2 separate regions of the Homo sapiens genome follow, and region 2 is linked to region 1. The links are contacts of gene promoters, found by promoter capture Hi-C in blood cells and fetal thymus (Javierre and others, 2016). All regions are on one chromosome and are shown on one strand. The core of a region is centred on a gene start or on the middle of the fragment in contact, and the rest is flanking DNA. Distances in the headings are between cores, read along the strand shown.

Region 1 (7,590 bases), core at 3,038-5,537:
TGAGTAGCTGGGATTACAGATGCCCGCCACCATGCCCAGCTAATTTTTCTATTTTTAGTAGAGACGGGGTTTCACCATGTTGGCCAGGCTGGTCTTGAACTTCTGACCTCAGGTGATCCGCCCACCTCAGCCTCCCAAAGTGCTGGGATTACAGGCATGAGCCACTGTGTCCGGCCTATTTTATTTTTTTGAGATGGAGTCTCACTCTGTTACCAGGCTGGAATACAGTGACGCGATCTCAGCTCACCGCAACCTCCACCTCCCAGGTTCAAGCAATTCTCCCGCCTCAGCCTTCCGAGTAGCTGGGATTACAGGTGTGCGTCACCGTGCTTGGCTATTTTTTTGTATTTTTAGTACAGACGGGGTTTCACCACGTCGGCCAGGCTGGTCTCAAACTCCTGACCTCAAGTGATCCGCCCGCCTCGGCCTCCCAAAGTGCTGGGATTACAGGCGTGAGCCACTGTGCCCAGCCAATTCTGCGATTTTTCTTGGATAGTGTAGCAGGTCTAAACATGCACGGGTCTCTACAGTTCTCTCTTTGGAAATAAGGGATGAAGGCCTGCAATCTTTCGAACTGAACTGAATTTATCAAGTCTTATGTGAGCTGAGCATGAGCTATAATTCCTTTTACTGACTTATTTCAAATATGGCTTTTCTCTCAAGCCCTCAAGGTGCTACAAACTGTCAGATCTGATTCCAGGTAGACTCGCCTTGACTGCAAGCTCTGTAGGACTCTTTCCCGACCCCACATTCCCTACATTCACAGTCTCCTGTCTCCTCTGCCTTTCACCCTTGCTTCAGTTCAACTTGCACATCTCTCGAGCACCTATCATTGGCAATCCTTCCCCAGACGCCGTAGATAGAGGAAAGCAAGTCCTTACCCCGGAGGAGCTTCAAGTTTAAACAGGAAAGCTAGAGCTCTGCACAGGTGGTTTCAGTGTCTGTGTGAGTGACGTGACAGACGCCTAGTGCCATCGGGACTCCAAAATTTGGAAGAGGTGAAACCCAAATTGAGTCTGTGGCCTCCATGTGGAATGGGGACCAATGGGCGCAGGAGGTGAGTGGTAGTTACTTGCAATGACCAGTGTTACTTTGGGGTGATGGAAACACAATATTTAATATTGTTCTATGTGCTTTTCTGAATTTTATTTGAAAACAAGCAAAGAAAAAAAAGTGGTACCAAAGACGGTTTTAGCAGAAATTATGGCGCACACAGGCCCAGCCCCAGGCAAGGGGCAGCGGCTATCTCGGTCACAAAGGCAACAGGTCCCACTGCAGGTTTCACACAGACCGCAGGGCTGGGCTGCCTCAAAGGGGTCTCGGATGAATGGAACTGAGCGTTCAATAGACCTTTCAACAAAAACAGCCCGACAACAATGGCGCAGTGTGGCTTTCTCTAGGCTACAGGCACTTACCACTATGACACTAATAGGGGGAGGGGGAACGCTAGAGCTCACACATTTGGGGACAAATTCACAATGTGAGTGGGGGGTGCTTCCCAATTATTTTTTGCCTTTTGTGGTACCCCTTCCATATATTTCAGTGAAGATATTCAAAACACACAAGAGAAACTCAAGCGCACAGGAGAAGAAAAACCTCACACAGCTGGAGTGGACTGCAGCACTGGAGAGGTAGGGAAAAGCTGTGTGACCCTCCTCGGGGGTCTCCATGCTCCTGACCCTCTCTAATAGTTTGTCCCCGAGTTTCAGAAAGGATGAGGGGACTGGTCAGGCTTAGAGAGAAGCAGTGAGAAATAAACTTGGATTAAATTCCTTACAAATAGAAATGTTCCAGCTTGAAGGAAGACCTCAGGTTAATCGCGGCTAAAGCATAACGCTTTTACGAAACCCCTTTAACACAAGACAATCCCTCAGCAAGGAAAGGAGAGATGTGAGGTCTCAGGAGAGGAAAACCTGGCTAGGTAATCTTACAGCCACCACCTGACTCGCTTCACAGCAAAACTAAATGTGACGCTTACAAGGCGCCCGCCCTGCGACTCGACCCCGTTCAGATGAGTGGCAAATGTGCAGCGTCTGGTGGACCCCAAGCAGAAGCTTCCAGTGATACCTCATCATCCAGTTCAGACCGGCTTTCCTTCCTCACCATCCTAAAAGGAAGAGTTTTCTCCCTTTCTCAACACCTTGTCCAGAAACCAGTCCCCCAGGGTAGTGTGAGTATGACTTTAGTGCGGCCCTGTGCAGCTAACTTCTGGAGCGTGAAAGTCAATATAAAAACATCGGCGTCGCTCAGGGTGATAATAAACACCATCATTTACCGGGCAGCCAGTGCCAGGCAGCACAAACAAAAAGGAAACGTACTAAATGCACACAACTGGGACAGGGCTGGGGATGCAGTCCCTCCCCCCACTGATGTGGGTGGTGCAAAACTCTGGCCACCAGGAACCAGAAACCGGATTCGCTCTGAGCACTAGTTTAAACTCCTGGTCCCACATCGGTGCAGACCTAGGCATAATAATCACTGTTCCATGGATGAAGGGCTGTTTCTTTGAGACGGAGTCTTGCTCTGTCATCCAGGCTGGAGTGCAGTGGTGTGATCTCGGCTCACTGCAAGCTCCGCCTCCCGGGTTCACACCATTCTCCTGCCTCAGCCTCTCAAGGAACTGGGACTACAGGCACCCGCCACCCCACACCCGGCTAATTTTTTCGTATTTTTAGTAGAGACGGGGTTTCACCGTGTTGGCCAGGATGGTCTCGATCTCCTGATCTCGTGGTCCACCTGCCTCGGCCTCCCCAAGTGCCGGGATTACAGCCGTTGAGTCACTGCACCCTGCCACGGGTAATTATTTGGTTACAAGTATTACTGAATACTGACCTAACTCCCTCAAATCTAAAGGGTTTTTTTTTTTTTTGAGACGGAGTCTTGCTCTGTCGTACAGGCTGGAGTGCAGTGGCATTATCTTGGCTCGCTGCCACCTCTGCCTCTGGGTTCAAGTGATTCTCCTGTCTCAGCCTCTCCAAGTAGCTGGGACTACAGGCACACACCACCACGCCTGGCTAATTTTTGCATTTTTAGTAGAGACGGGGGTTTCACCATGTTGGCCAGGCTGGTCTCGAACTCTTGACCTCACGTGACTCGCCCACCTCAGCCTCCCAAAGTGCCGTGATTACAGGTGTGAGCCACCACGCCCGGCCAATCTAAAGGGTTTTTATTTTTAGCAAGTTGGAGCAATTCTTTTACTTAGTATTTATTCAATATAGTATTTGTCTTCACTTGATCATAGCCAAAAGGCTGAGAAGCAATATAGTATTGGTCTTAACAGTCATGGCACACATATTCTCTTCTACTTCTCTGGCGAGGCTGTGCCACAGAGGGGCTCATCATACAGAAAACCTCAGGCATCTGAAGACCCAAACTTCACAATGCAAGTTTACTGCTCAAGTGGCACGAAAGACCTTGTAAGCTCTGTCCCTCTAATTCATGCGAGTCCCAATACCCAAAGAGTGCTTTAAAAGTTCAAAAACATAAGAAAAGTGTGCTCAGTGTTCCTGGCTATTAAAGCTGAGTCAGGATATCTTCGTCCCAATCCACTTCTTCCTACAGCGAAGCCCAGGAGCGCCATCCACCTTCCCAGGAGATAGAACTGACTCTTCCCCAGACGCCCTGGCACTTTCCAAAGGAAGTGGACTCACATGAACTAGTGGAAGCGCGGCCATGGGCAGGGCACAGGCCACACACACACCAGGGACACGGGCACACGGCCACACGCACAGGAGCGGGGGCATGGCCAGACACCCCCCACGAACACATCGCCGCACACCCCTTAGGGACACCCCCCCGGGAACATGGACACGCATCCCACAGACAAAATGGGCCGCACCCACGGGCACACCCCGCCCCCAGGAAACCCCCCACGGAACGCACCACACGGAACGCGGGCGCCCAGGCGCGAGGGAGCGCAGCCCGCCCTCCACACAGCTTTGTTCCCAGAGCCCGGGCGCCCCTCCCCGCCCTCGGCCTCGGTCGCGGGCAGCTCTCCACAGCCCGGGCCTCAGCGAGCGGCCCCTCGGGCTTCGGGCCTCGGTCTGGCGGCGGCGCAGAAAGGCGGGCGGCGGCCCCGAGGGCCTCTGTGAGGTCGCCCTGCCCCCCAACCCCACCCCAACCCCACACGGCTGGTGGACGCCCTGGGCTGGCCCGCTCCCGCCACGTGGTCGCGCTATCCGCCCGCCTCCCGTGTGCCCCGCGCCGCACCTGGAGCCGGCGCGGCCGCCCTCGCTATCCGGGACCTGGAACATGTCGACCGCCGCCACCCTCAGCTCGCCGCGCGCCGTTCCCGCCCGCCCAGCGCAGGTACTCAAGGCCGCCCGCCAGCGCCCATTGGGCGCCAAGACGCCAATCATCCCTCCGCAGCCTATCTCAGCGCGGCCACCGCCCCTCACGCCCACCCCCGACGACTTAGGCTTTGAACGGTCGGCGCCGCGCCCGCAGCCGATTGGGGAAGGCGACGCCGCTCGCGGAGGTGGGAGCTCGCATTGGGCGGCGGGCCGGGCGGGCCCTGGGACGGCCGCGCCCTCGGGAGGAAGCCCGGTCTGCGGGAGCCCGCGAGCCGACCGCGGGGCCGCACCTGGGCCGCACCTGCCCGACCAGGGACTGCGGGCATGGGCGCGCGGCCCTGAAGAACAGGCACAAACGACAGTCCTTAGATCAACATTAGTATGTATTTATGCACAATAAAAACATTTACAAGTTGAACTGGAAATTTAAACAGAAGTTTAACAGCTCTTATTATATTAAATAACCAAAACACCTTTTATTCCCAAAATTGGTAAAGAATAAATAATATAATTTACAATATGGTACAAAAAATAACCAGGAAAGGCAGGCATTCTGCTTTATACATACACTGTATATGCATATTTATAATCTATAAAACAAATTCATATCTGAAACGAGCGGAGGCCTCGCTATGGCTTAACCGAGTAAGAGAGAGAAGGGGAGCGGGGCGCGGGAGGCAGGGCCAGGGGCTGGGCTCCCCACACCTCACCCACCCCAAGGACACGCAGCCACTGTGACATCAGGAGAGCGCTGACAGCCGCGAAGGGTGTGCTGTGGGTTTTTTTCCTTCGTTGTAAATTACTCTTTCCTTGCTTTCTTTTTTTAACTTGAGACCCAGTTTCGCTCTTCTTGCCCAGGCTGGAGTGCACTGGCGCGATCTCGACTCACTGCAACCTCCGCCGCTGAGGTTCAAGTGATTCTCCTACCTCAAGTCTCCTCAGTAGCTGGGATTATGGGCATGCGCCACCACGCCCGGCTAATTCTGTACTTTTAGTAGAGACAGGGTCTCTCCATGTTAGTCAGGGTGGTCTCATACTCCCCACCTCAGGTGATCCGCCCGCCTCGGCCTCCCAAAGTGCTGGGATTACAGGCGTGAGCCACTGCGCCCGGCCTCCTTCCTTGTTTTCTTAAGACAAAGTGCTGTATTTCCTGACAAATGCATCGGCTAGAGCTCAAGGTTTAAAGAGAAAACACAACTGTCTTCCTCCTCCCTCATTCCCGGTGTCTTATGCCCCACAACTTTCTTTGCAGAAGAAATTTTGAATTCAATGCTGTGATCTAATTAAAGATGCTATTAAACTAAAAAGGTTATCCACCAGAAATGAGGCCACGGCCTCTCATGCCCAGAACCTGGAGGTGCGGCAAAGCAAGGAGGCCAACCGCGGAAACGCCGCCAACACCCCACTCCCTGAGCTGGCACCCTACAGCTACAAGACACAGAAGGACAAAACAGCCAGGAAGCCACGAACTAGGCATCCCCCGAGGCACGCAATGCCCGCTTATCACTGCACATCCACAACAGAATTGAGGCCAGAGGACTAACTTCCCTGGACCACAGATGCTCTGTCCCAATCTCCAGAAAAGACGAATCAACAGAAAGATCCCAGGCAACGTCAGAGGGATTCAGGAAAGCTTTTTCTAAGAAACTGATCTCATCTTAATTACAGCATGCTCAAATGCACAAAGGAAGCCACAGGCTCATACTTAGACGATCACCGCTTCTGTTGGAAAGGCAGAAGATGCAGGAAGTCTCTGTTTGGATCTTTTGAAAATTCCAGCCTTTAACAGTTGCCTATGTTTGCACATAAATATTCATTTAGGCCAGAAGAAAATGTATCCATTGTTTTTCTGCAACAAATGACACCATTTTCCCTTAATGTGGCAAGCAAATGCGTATCACCTGTCTAGTTACTAGAGAAGCAGAATCCTCTAGAACTCTTGTCAGCTTTATTACAGGAGAGGAGTCAGCCCGTCCTCCTCCCTAACCCATCTCCCCACTGGATGGCAATGGCTGCAGTTGGCTGCTCCCAGGAGTCTACGCTGGAGAACCAAGTGGTAGGTGCTGTCTAAAGAGCCTACGAAAGCAGACTCTGACCTCCAAAACTTCACCCCACTGAGTTGTCAGGGGCTAACAGGTACCCTGACAGGCAGTTCACAAACCCTCCTGTCCCTGGCACAGTGCACACAGCTCAGTGCTGTTGGGACTTGGCATCTCTGGTCTAGCCTGTGGGAGTATGAGAAAGCTAGCAGTGGCCTGAACTCGGCCTGGTATCCTAACCCTCTAGAGACGCAGCAAAGCCAGATGCCCAGAGGGAGATCTCCTTGTCTTCTCTGGCTCAATGAGATGCTAATTTTGGAAGCTGGTATACGTAGCACAAAACACAAGCTAGTGTAAAGATGCTGTAGTTCAAACACTGCTGTCTCTCTCCTAATCAAGTGGCATGTTTCTTTTTTCACCCCTAAGAGGTTTGGGACTGTTTGCTTAAGATCTCATGTCAATGTCTGAAGGAGGGAAGCCAGCTCAGGCAAGAGCTCTAAGAAAAACTCGTGAGACAAAAGAAGGAAGCTCTTGCCTGGAAGTTCACTGTCCTCTCCACGTCCTCCCAGTGGTGCAGTACACGGCCTGCCTGTGGTCTACAGTGGCTGTGGTGGGCTGGCAAGACTGCAGGACGGAGGGCGTCCACATGCTTGTCCACACCAAAGGCCTTTCCCTCCTCTTTTCACCTTCTCCATTGTGGATGGGGAGAGAAGCAGTGGAGGGGCCAGGGCTGGCCTTGAGGGCTGCAGCGTGCCACACATGTGGGGGAAGAGGAATGGTGGGGAGGAGGGAGAGTAGGTCCAAGGGGGTTAGGAAAGCACAATCAATCCCGGCTGCTGCGGGGGATGAAATGAGGCAGGAAGGGAGAGATGGCGGCACAGGCATGGCCTGCCCAACACCTCTGTAGCAGCTCCAGGCCACACTGGATGTGGATGGACGGTGACTCATGTGCCTGGAACTCCTGAGGATGAGAAGGCAAAGGGGCCCTTGTTAGCTCTGTCCTGGGGAAAGACTGGATGTTGGGCCGTCTGCAGTAGGAACGCTGGCCACCCAAGAGGGCGCAAGGAGGGAGACCACCACGAAGGCATATATTTGGTGAGGTCTGACCACATCCAGATGTCTGGGCCCTCACCTGGGTGTCCCAAATGGGAAGGAGACACAGAAGTCTCAAGGCAAAGGTATGCAAGGGACTGAACACGTATGTCAGGCACGCCCACACCAATGCCCGTGAGAGACACTTTCCCTGCAAAGGCAGGTTT
Region 2 (7,590 bases), core at 4,944-7,443, 170 kb after region 1:
CACAAAAAAAGAAAATGGTGTTCCATTTTTTAGTCGCTTATTTTTTAATTTTAGAGACAGCGTGTAGTCACTTTAAAGTGACCAGCTAATCACTTATTCAGCCGCAGTGTTCTAGCGTTTTCCTCATCCCCACCAACATTTGATCATTCTTTCGAACTGTAGCCATCCTAGGGGGTGAACAGTACCTTGCTGAGGTTTAAATTCACATTTTCTGGATGAGTAGTGATGTGCAGCTCCTTCTCATGTGCTTATTATCCATTTACACACCTTCTGTGAAGGCTTCAAGTCTCTTCTCATCATTTTATTGGGTTTTCTTATTATTGTACTTTTTTTTTTTTTTTTTGGAGACGGAGTCTCACTCTGTTGCCCAGGCTGGAGCGCAGTGGCGCGATCTCGGCTCACTGCAAGCTCCGCCTCCTGGGTTCACGCCATTCTCCTGCCTCAGCCTCCCAAGTAGCTGGGACTACAGGTGTGCATCAGCATGCCTGTAGAGATGGGGTTTCACCATTTGGCCAGGCTGGTCTTGAACTCGTGACCTCAAGTGATCCACCCGCCTCCACCTCCCAAAGTGCTGGGATTACAGGCGTGAGCCACCGCGCCTGGCCGAAGTTCCCTTCTATTCCTTTTTTCCTCTGCTTCTGAAATTCCAATGACTTGTATATACAGTACCATCCCCTAGCTCAACTGATGCTCTTCTTTTCTCCCCCAAGGACTTTTTCTGTTTTTCATTTTAGGGATTTGCCATTTCTGTTGCTTCAAGTTTACCAGCTTTCCTTCTGCAGTGTCTCACTCTGATGGTAATCCCATCCATCTTTTTCATGTCAGTTTTCTACCAGTCAACTTTTTCTACCAGTTTTTATTATTGTTACTTTAAACCTTTTTTCCTGCCTTCTTTTTAGTTGATTTTTTTTTTTTTTTTTTTTTGAGACAGAGTGTCGCTCTGTCGCCCAGGCTGGAGTGCGGTGGTGCAATCTCGGCTCACTGCAAGCTCTGCCTCCCGGGTTCACGCCATTCTCCTACCTCAGCCTCCCGAGTAGCTGGGACTACAGGCGCCCGCCACCACGCCCAGATAATTTTTTTGTATTTTTAGTAGAGACAGGGTTTCACCGTGTTAGCCAGGATGGTCTCGATCTCCTGACCTCATGATCCGCCCGCCTCGGCCTCCCAAAGTGCTGGGATTACAGGCGTGAGCCACCGCACCTGGCCTTAGTGGACTATTTTTTATAATTTCATTTTAGCTATCAGCTTTTTATCTCTACTCCTCTTTGCATTGTATTTCTAGTGTTTGCCCTGGAGATTACCATAAACATACTTACCACACTAGAGTTAGCAGGTAGGTCCATTTCCCACCCGTGTCCCCACCTGTATTTGTCGTATGTGTAACATGTACATGTATTATAAACACAGTATAGTGTTATAATTGTTGCTTTCAACAGTCATATGTATTTTGAAGAAATTAAAAGGAAAGAAATAGTCTTTTACATTTACCTACATATTTACCATCCATTTCTGGTGTTTTTTTTTTTTTTTTTTTTTTTTTTTTTTTTTTTTTTTGAGACAGAGTTTTGCTCTTTGTAGCCCAGGCTGGAGTGGGCAACAAACCTCAGCTCACCACAACCTCTACCCTCCAGGTTCAAGTGATTCTCCTGCCTCAGCCTCCGGAGTAGCTGGGATTACAGGCATGCGCCACCACGCCTGGCTAATTTTGTATTTTTAGGGGAGATGGGGTTTCTCCATGTTGGTCAGGCTGGTCTCAAACTCCCAACCTCAGGTGATCTGCCTGCCTCGGCCTCCCAAAGCGTCATTTCTGGTGTTCTTACTTCTTCCCTATGATTCCGATTTGCATGTGGTATCACTCCTCTTCAGCCTGAGCTCCCTTTAACATTTCTTCTAGTTCAGATCTCCTGATGATGAATTTTCTTACTTTTCGTTAATCTGAAATGTATTTATTTTGCCTGTATTCTTCAAGGTTGTTCTCATCAGATAGAGAATTCTGAGGCCAGGCACAGTGGCTCATGCCTGTAATCTCAGCACTTTGGGAGGCCAAGGTGGGAGGATTTCTTGAGGCCAGGAGTTCAAGTCCAGCCTGGGTAACAAGTGAGACCCCATCTCTGAAAAAAATAGCAAGGCATGGTGGCATGCACCTGCAGTCTTGGCTGCTTGGGAGGCTGAGGTGGGAGGACTGCTTGAGCCCAGGAGGTTGAGTCTGCAGTGAGCTGTGATAGCACCACTGCACTCCAGCCTGGGTGACAAAGCAAGATCCTGATTCAAAAAAAATCCTGATTTGACAGATTTTTTTCCTTTCAGCACTTGAATGTTTTCCCTGTCTGGGCCTCCATTGTTTCTGGAAGAGTCAGCTATGGGCTGTCTGTGGGGCCCTTACATGTCATGTGTCTCTCCATCTCCCACTGCACTGGCTGCTGTCATGACTTTCTTCTTGAATTTGTGTTTCAGCAGTGCGATAATGATGTTCCTAGGTGTTTTCATTGTATTTATCCTGGGCTTTTGGGATCTATATTTGTGTTTTGCCAAATTTGGGAAATTTGCTCTTTTTCTCCTTCTGGGACTCCAATTAAATGTTAGGTCTTCCATATCTAGTAGACACACATTTGTGATTACTGCTCATTATTTTCTTTTTTTCTGTCCTTTGGATTAATTTGTATTTATCTAGACTTTCTTTAGCTATCTTCAATCTGCTGTTAACCTCTCCAGCAATCTTTTTAGAGCTTGTATTTTGCAGCCCTAGAATTTACACTTAGTTCTTTTTATTATTTATTGGCTAAAATTCCCTATTTGTTAATTTGTTTAAAATATATTTTATATTTATATCCTAAAGCAGAGTTGTAACTGCTGCTGTAAAATCTTAGCTACCGGTTCCAATATCTGGGTCATGTAGGATTGATCTCCATTACTTGCCTTTTGAGTATGGGTCAAATTTTCCTGTTTCTTATGTCTAGTCATTTTTTTGTATCATGGACATTGTGGATAATCCATTGTAGAGACTCTGGATTCTGTTACATTCCTCCAAAGAGTATTGCTTTTTTTTGGTTCATTTTATTAGGCAATCACCTTTGCTCAGCTCAGAGCCGAAACTCTTTCCCCTGTGGTGGATAGCAGCTGAAATCCCTGCTTGTAGCGTGAGTTGGCTTAAAGTCTGCACCTCCCCTGCCTCATGTGTAGTGTGGGAGCAACTAGTGACGAGGGCAGCATATGCTCAGGATTTGGGATCCCCTCTATGCCTGCTGCATCCCAACGTTTCCACCTTCACATTCCAGCTGCTGTGGTCAACAAAAATCTTTTATTTATTTATTTATTTATTTATTTGAGATGGAGTGTCGCTCTATCGCCCAGGCTGGAGTGCAGTGGCGTGATCTCGGCTCACTGCAAGCTCCGCCTCCCTGGTTCATGCCATTCTCCTGCTGCAGCCTCCCGAGTAGCTGGGACTACAGGCGCCCGCCACCACGCCCAGTTAATTTTTTTTGCATTTTTAGTAGAGACGGGGTTTCACCGTGTTAGCCAGGATGGTCTCGATCTCCTGACCTCGTGATCCACCCACCTTGGCCTCCCAAAGTGCTGGGATTACAGGCGTGAGGTACCGCACCTGGCCAACAAAAATCTTGATTCTGATTCTTTAAGCCTGGAAGAGGGCAGGCTTCGAGGTGGCTGATGCCCACACTGGCCCTGACTTGGGCCTACCCTGAGGCAGAAAGTTGTGAGAAGCAGCCGGGTGCAGTGGCTCACGCCTGTAATCCCAGCACTTTGGGAGGCCAAGGCGGGCAGATCATGAGGTCAGGAGATGGAGACCATCTTGGCTAACACGGTGAAACCCCGTCTCTACTAAAAATACAAAAAATTAGCCGGGTGTGGTGGTGGGCGCCTGTAGTCCCAGCTACTTGGGAGGCTGAGGCAGGAGAATGGTGTGAACCCGGGAGGCGGAGCTTGCAGTGAGCAGAGATCGCACCACTGCACTCCAGCCTGGGCGACACAGCAAGACTCCGTCTCAAAAAAGAAAAAAAAAAAAAGAAAGTTGTGAGAAGCAGGAAGCCTGCCCAGTGCCACCCACTCCCAGCATCAGCCTGCTCACGGCTGCCCCCAGTGCCTTTCCATGTGTCCGTCGTCATTAGGGGGAGGGCTGCTCTCACAGGAGTCGTGCTGCTGTTGTCAGAAGCCTCTCTTCTCATTCTTTTTTCTTTTCTGAGACAGTCTTGCTCTGTTGCCCAGCTGGAGTGCAGTGGCATGATCGTGGCTCACTGCAACCTCCGCCTCCTGGGCTCAAGCAATTGTCCTGCCTCAGCCTCCCAAGTAGCTGGGACTACAGGTTCCCGCCACCACGCCCAGCTAATTTTTGTATTTATTTATTTATTTTTTAGTAGAGACGGGGTTTCACCGTGTTAGCCAGGATGGTCTTGATCTCCTGACCTCGTGATCCGCCCACCTCGGCCTCCCAAAGTGCTGGGATTACAGGCGTGAGCCACCGCGCCCGGCCTCTTTTTCAACCATAATTCTGTTGTAGCCAACATAGAGAATTGCACGCGCCTGCATCCGTCAGACCCTGCAGCTATGCCGATGCCTGCAGGGCCTCTGCACCCACCAGTTGTGTTGCCCTATTAGATAGTTCCCGGGACTCACAAACTGAGTATCGAGAAATGAGCTTGGGAAACATGCTGGCGACCGTGTCGGGCTCGCTGGGCTGCAGCCTCCAGAATTCACAGGAAAGCTCCTTGGCAGTGGCTCTCCCTCAGGGCTGAAAGGTCAGCTCCGTGAGACACAGACTTCCTGGCCCGGTTGCTCACTCCCCTCTGCGCCGTTCCACTTCCATTCACTGACCCCTTTTGCTGCTGGAAAAAACAACTCAAGTCTAATCCTAACAAGGTTTCTTTTTTGTTGTTGCTTGGTTTGGTTTTGAGACGAGGTCTTGCTCTGTCGCCCAGGCTGGAGTGCGGTGGCACAATCACAGCTCCCTGCAGCCTCAGCCTCCCGGGTTCAAGGGATCCTCGTGAGTGGCTGGTGTGCAGCACCGCGCCCTGCTCCAACGGGGTTTCTATTTCTAGGAGAACTATAGTTTTCCGTATAAAAGCAAAATTGGAGTAGAGAGATGCCCAGACTGCTATATCCTCAAAATTAACAGGAAATCCACATTTTAAATATTTCGCCAACTTCTTTATTCTCTCTATGGTTGCTTGAAGCCTGTGGAATTTAGTAACTCGAGATACAAAAGAAAAAAGAAACTGGGAAGCGCAGCTAAACTGAGAATGCCCAGGCACACGCTCCCTGGCTGCTGCTGTAGCGCCACCCGGGGTCACGTGCACCACCTCACCCAGGCCACAGCTCCTATATCCGCTCAGCTTTCCCGCCATCATCCATCATCTGAGCACAGCCCGCACACACCCTCCTGATGCTGGAGACCGGCAACATTTCTGTCCCCACGTCCTGCCCTCCACCGCCCCTCACCCACCTACGCCGCCTGTCCTGCCCCCCATCCTGCCCCCCACCCACCTATGCCGCCTGTCCTGCCCCCCATCCTGCCCCCCACCACCCCTCACCCACCTATGCCGCCTGTCCTGCCCCCCACCACCCCTCACCCGCCCTCCGCACCTTCTGCCTGCCTTCTGGAAACCACTTGATTGCCCTCTCCGAAGCTAGCTCTGCACACAGAGCAGTCACACGCACCAGGCCCTGGTTGCATCAGGACGCCGGCCCTTTCTGACCACAGGGTCCCTCTTCGACCCTGGTCAGCTCCTTCCTCTCTCTCCCTCCCTGTGCCAGCCCTTCTCTGAATTCTGCCACTGCAGGACCTCGGCCTGACCTGGCTCCCCACTACAGCATTACCCAAGCTTGTTCTGTGCCCTTACGTCCTGTGTCCCCTGTGTCCCCAGCACAGCGCCTGGCACATGGCAGGTGGTTTGTCAGCATGTAAGGCAGCATCTTTTCAGGTGTGGATGTTTGCCCTCAGCCTCTCGTTTGAGACTGTGTGGAAGGCTTGCACTCCACCAGCGCCCACCCCAGCTGAGGCCTTCCTTAAACGCAGGTCCACTGCCAGGTGATGGGAGGGGCCATCCAACAAGCTTATTATATCTTCATAGCTGAGACTCCATCTCAAAAAAAAAAAATACCCAAGCCAAACCAGTAGATATCGCTGCCTGCCCTCCACTCTGACATATGCATGTCCACCCGCAAGACTCGAGTGCAGAACGCGGGGCCTCTGCCTCCCCAGGAGGCTCTGCCCGCACACGCACGGTGAGCAGGCCTGTGCACAGCTGCTGAGGGACTTTCCAGGGCCCTGGCTCTGCATTTCCAGCTGAAATGCTGACCGAAGCTTCCTGTTGAGTGTCCACACATGGCATGTGTGCGGTCCGCGGGCACCGCATCCCCTCATCACCACATTCCCCCATCACCAATGGGAAGCCTCAGTGCACCCCGTGTCCTCCAGCGCGGAGGCACCCCCACCCGCCTCCAGGGGCAGCAGCACGTGCCTGGCCTGCAGGCAGAGGGTCGTGCCTGGTTGTTCAGGAAAGCTGAGTAATGTCTGCTCCTCTGCCCCAGGCCTACAGATTCCTGGAGGAGATGCGGCGGCGGCTTCCCTTGGCCAACATGTCCTACTACGTGAGCCCGCAGGCCGTGGACGCCGTGCACCGGGGGCTGGGTCTCCCACTGCCACGCACCGTCCCCGAGCAGGTCCGCCACAACAGCATGGAGGACGCCAGGGAGCTGGACGAGGAGGTGGTGGAAGAGGCAGATGACGACCCCTGAGGGGCCTGGGCCCCAGGACCAGCGTGCTGCTGCAGAAAGGCATCTTCTGGAATTTTTTTGTCAGCTGTGGCAAAGCCAGCATTTTTGCTGGGAAAAAACATGTCTGTGTTGGAATACGCGACAGAGCTGGGCGAGAACGCAGCGGCCCGGGCCGGCGGAGGGTGTGACCCGTCTGCACCTTGCTCTGTCCCACCTGCCTCTGGGTGCCCGGCAGCTCCACTAGATTTTTGGATTCATTCCTTTGAAGGGAGTCGGGTTCACCCTTCCATCGTATTCTCCCAACTACACATTGTAAAGCCTGAGAAACTTCTAGAACCTCAGGAAGCTGCAGCTGGAGGGCTGGGGCACCTGCCCCCCTGCTCCCCACACATCATATCCTCCCCATACTCCTGCAGGGCCCACGGCTCCTGAGCAACAGCTGGGACACCCGGGCCTTGGCGGCTGCACCCCCTGCTAGGCTCTGCCCACCGGCCACCAACACTCCTGTAATTCCAATAAAGCAGTTTATTTTCTGAGAGCCCGTGCCCTGTCCCATCCCGCCCCACGAGCCCATCCAGGAGCCACACACCCTGCCTGGGCTGTGAGCACTATTCTCCTGGTGACACGGCGCTCAGCCCGAGGGACCTGGGACAAGAGCTGCTCTGTCCTGCTTGGTGGCTCTCAGAGGAGAGCCTTGGGGGCTCTGAGCAGCAGGTACACCGTCCTCCCCTCCTGCCAGCCTGGTTCTGCCCTCACTGGAAGAGTCAACCCCGCCAGCAGCGCCCACAGCCCCAGCCCCACGTCCAGGCTGCCATGTCCCGGCGGGCAGTGCCCAGGCCCAGTGTATTTTTAGCGGACTGG

The links. The method cuts DNA at HindIII sites, captures the fragments that hold promoters and counts their contacts. A CHiCAGO score of 5 or more calls a contact.
Region 2: a contact is called between a fragment that was not itself captured here and the fragment with the promoter of JPT2 in region 1, in 1 of 17 cell types (endothelial precursors). The highest score is 5.3, in endothelial precursors.

The regions. Positions count from the first base shown.
Region 1 is chr16:1,674,976-1,682,565 of GRCh38, reverse strand. JPT2 (Jupiter microtubule associated homolog 2) reads right to left here and starts at 4,287. Exons shown (of 5, transcript NM_144570.3): 1 at 4,210-4,287. The coding sequence starts at 4,253. It overlaps CRAMP1 (cramped chromatin regulator 1), which reads right to left. Exons shown (of 21, transcript NM_020825.4): 21 at 4,658-7,590. RefSeq lists silencers at 3,871-4,230, 4,261-4,660 and an enhancer at 3,795-4,430. The HindIII fragment of the contact is 3,871 bases long and covers 2,057-5,927 here.
Region 2 is chr16:1,510,104-1,517,693 of GRCh38, reverse strand. TELO2 (telomere maintenance 2) reads right to left here. Exons shown (of 21, transcript NM_016111.4): 21 at 7,240-7,590. IFT140 (intraflagellar transport 140) reads left to right here. Exons shown (of 31, transcript NM_014714.4): 31 at 6,544-7,267. The coding sequence ends at 6,750. Among named protein-coding and RNA genes, the nearest start is that of TMEM204, 20 kb to the left of the region's middle. The HindIII fragment of the contact is 251 bases long and covers 6,068-6,318 here.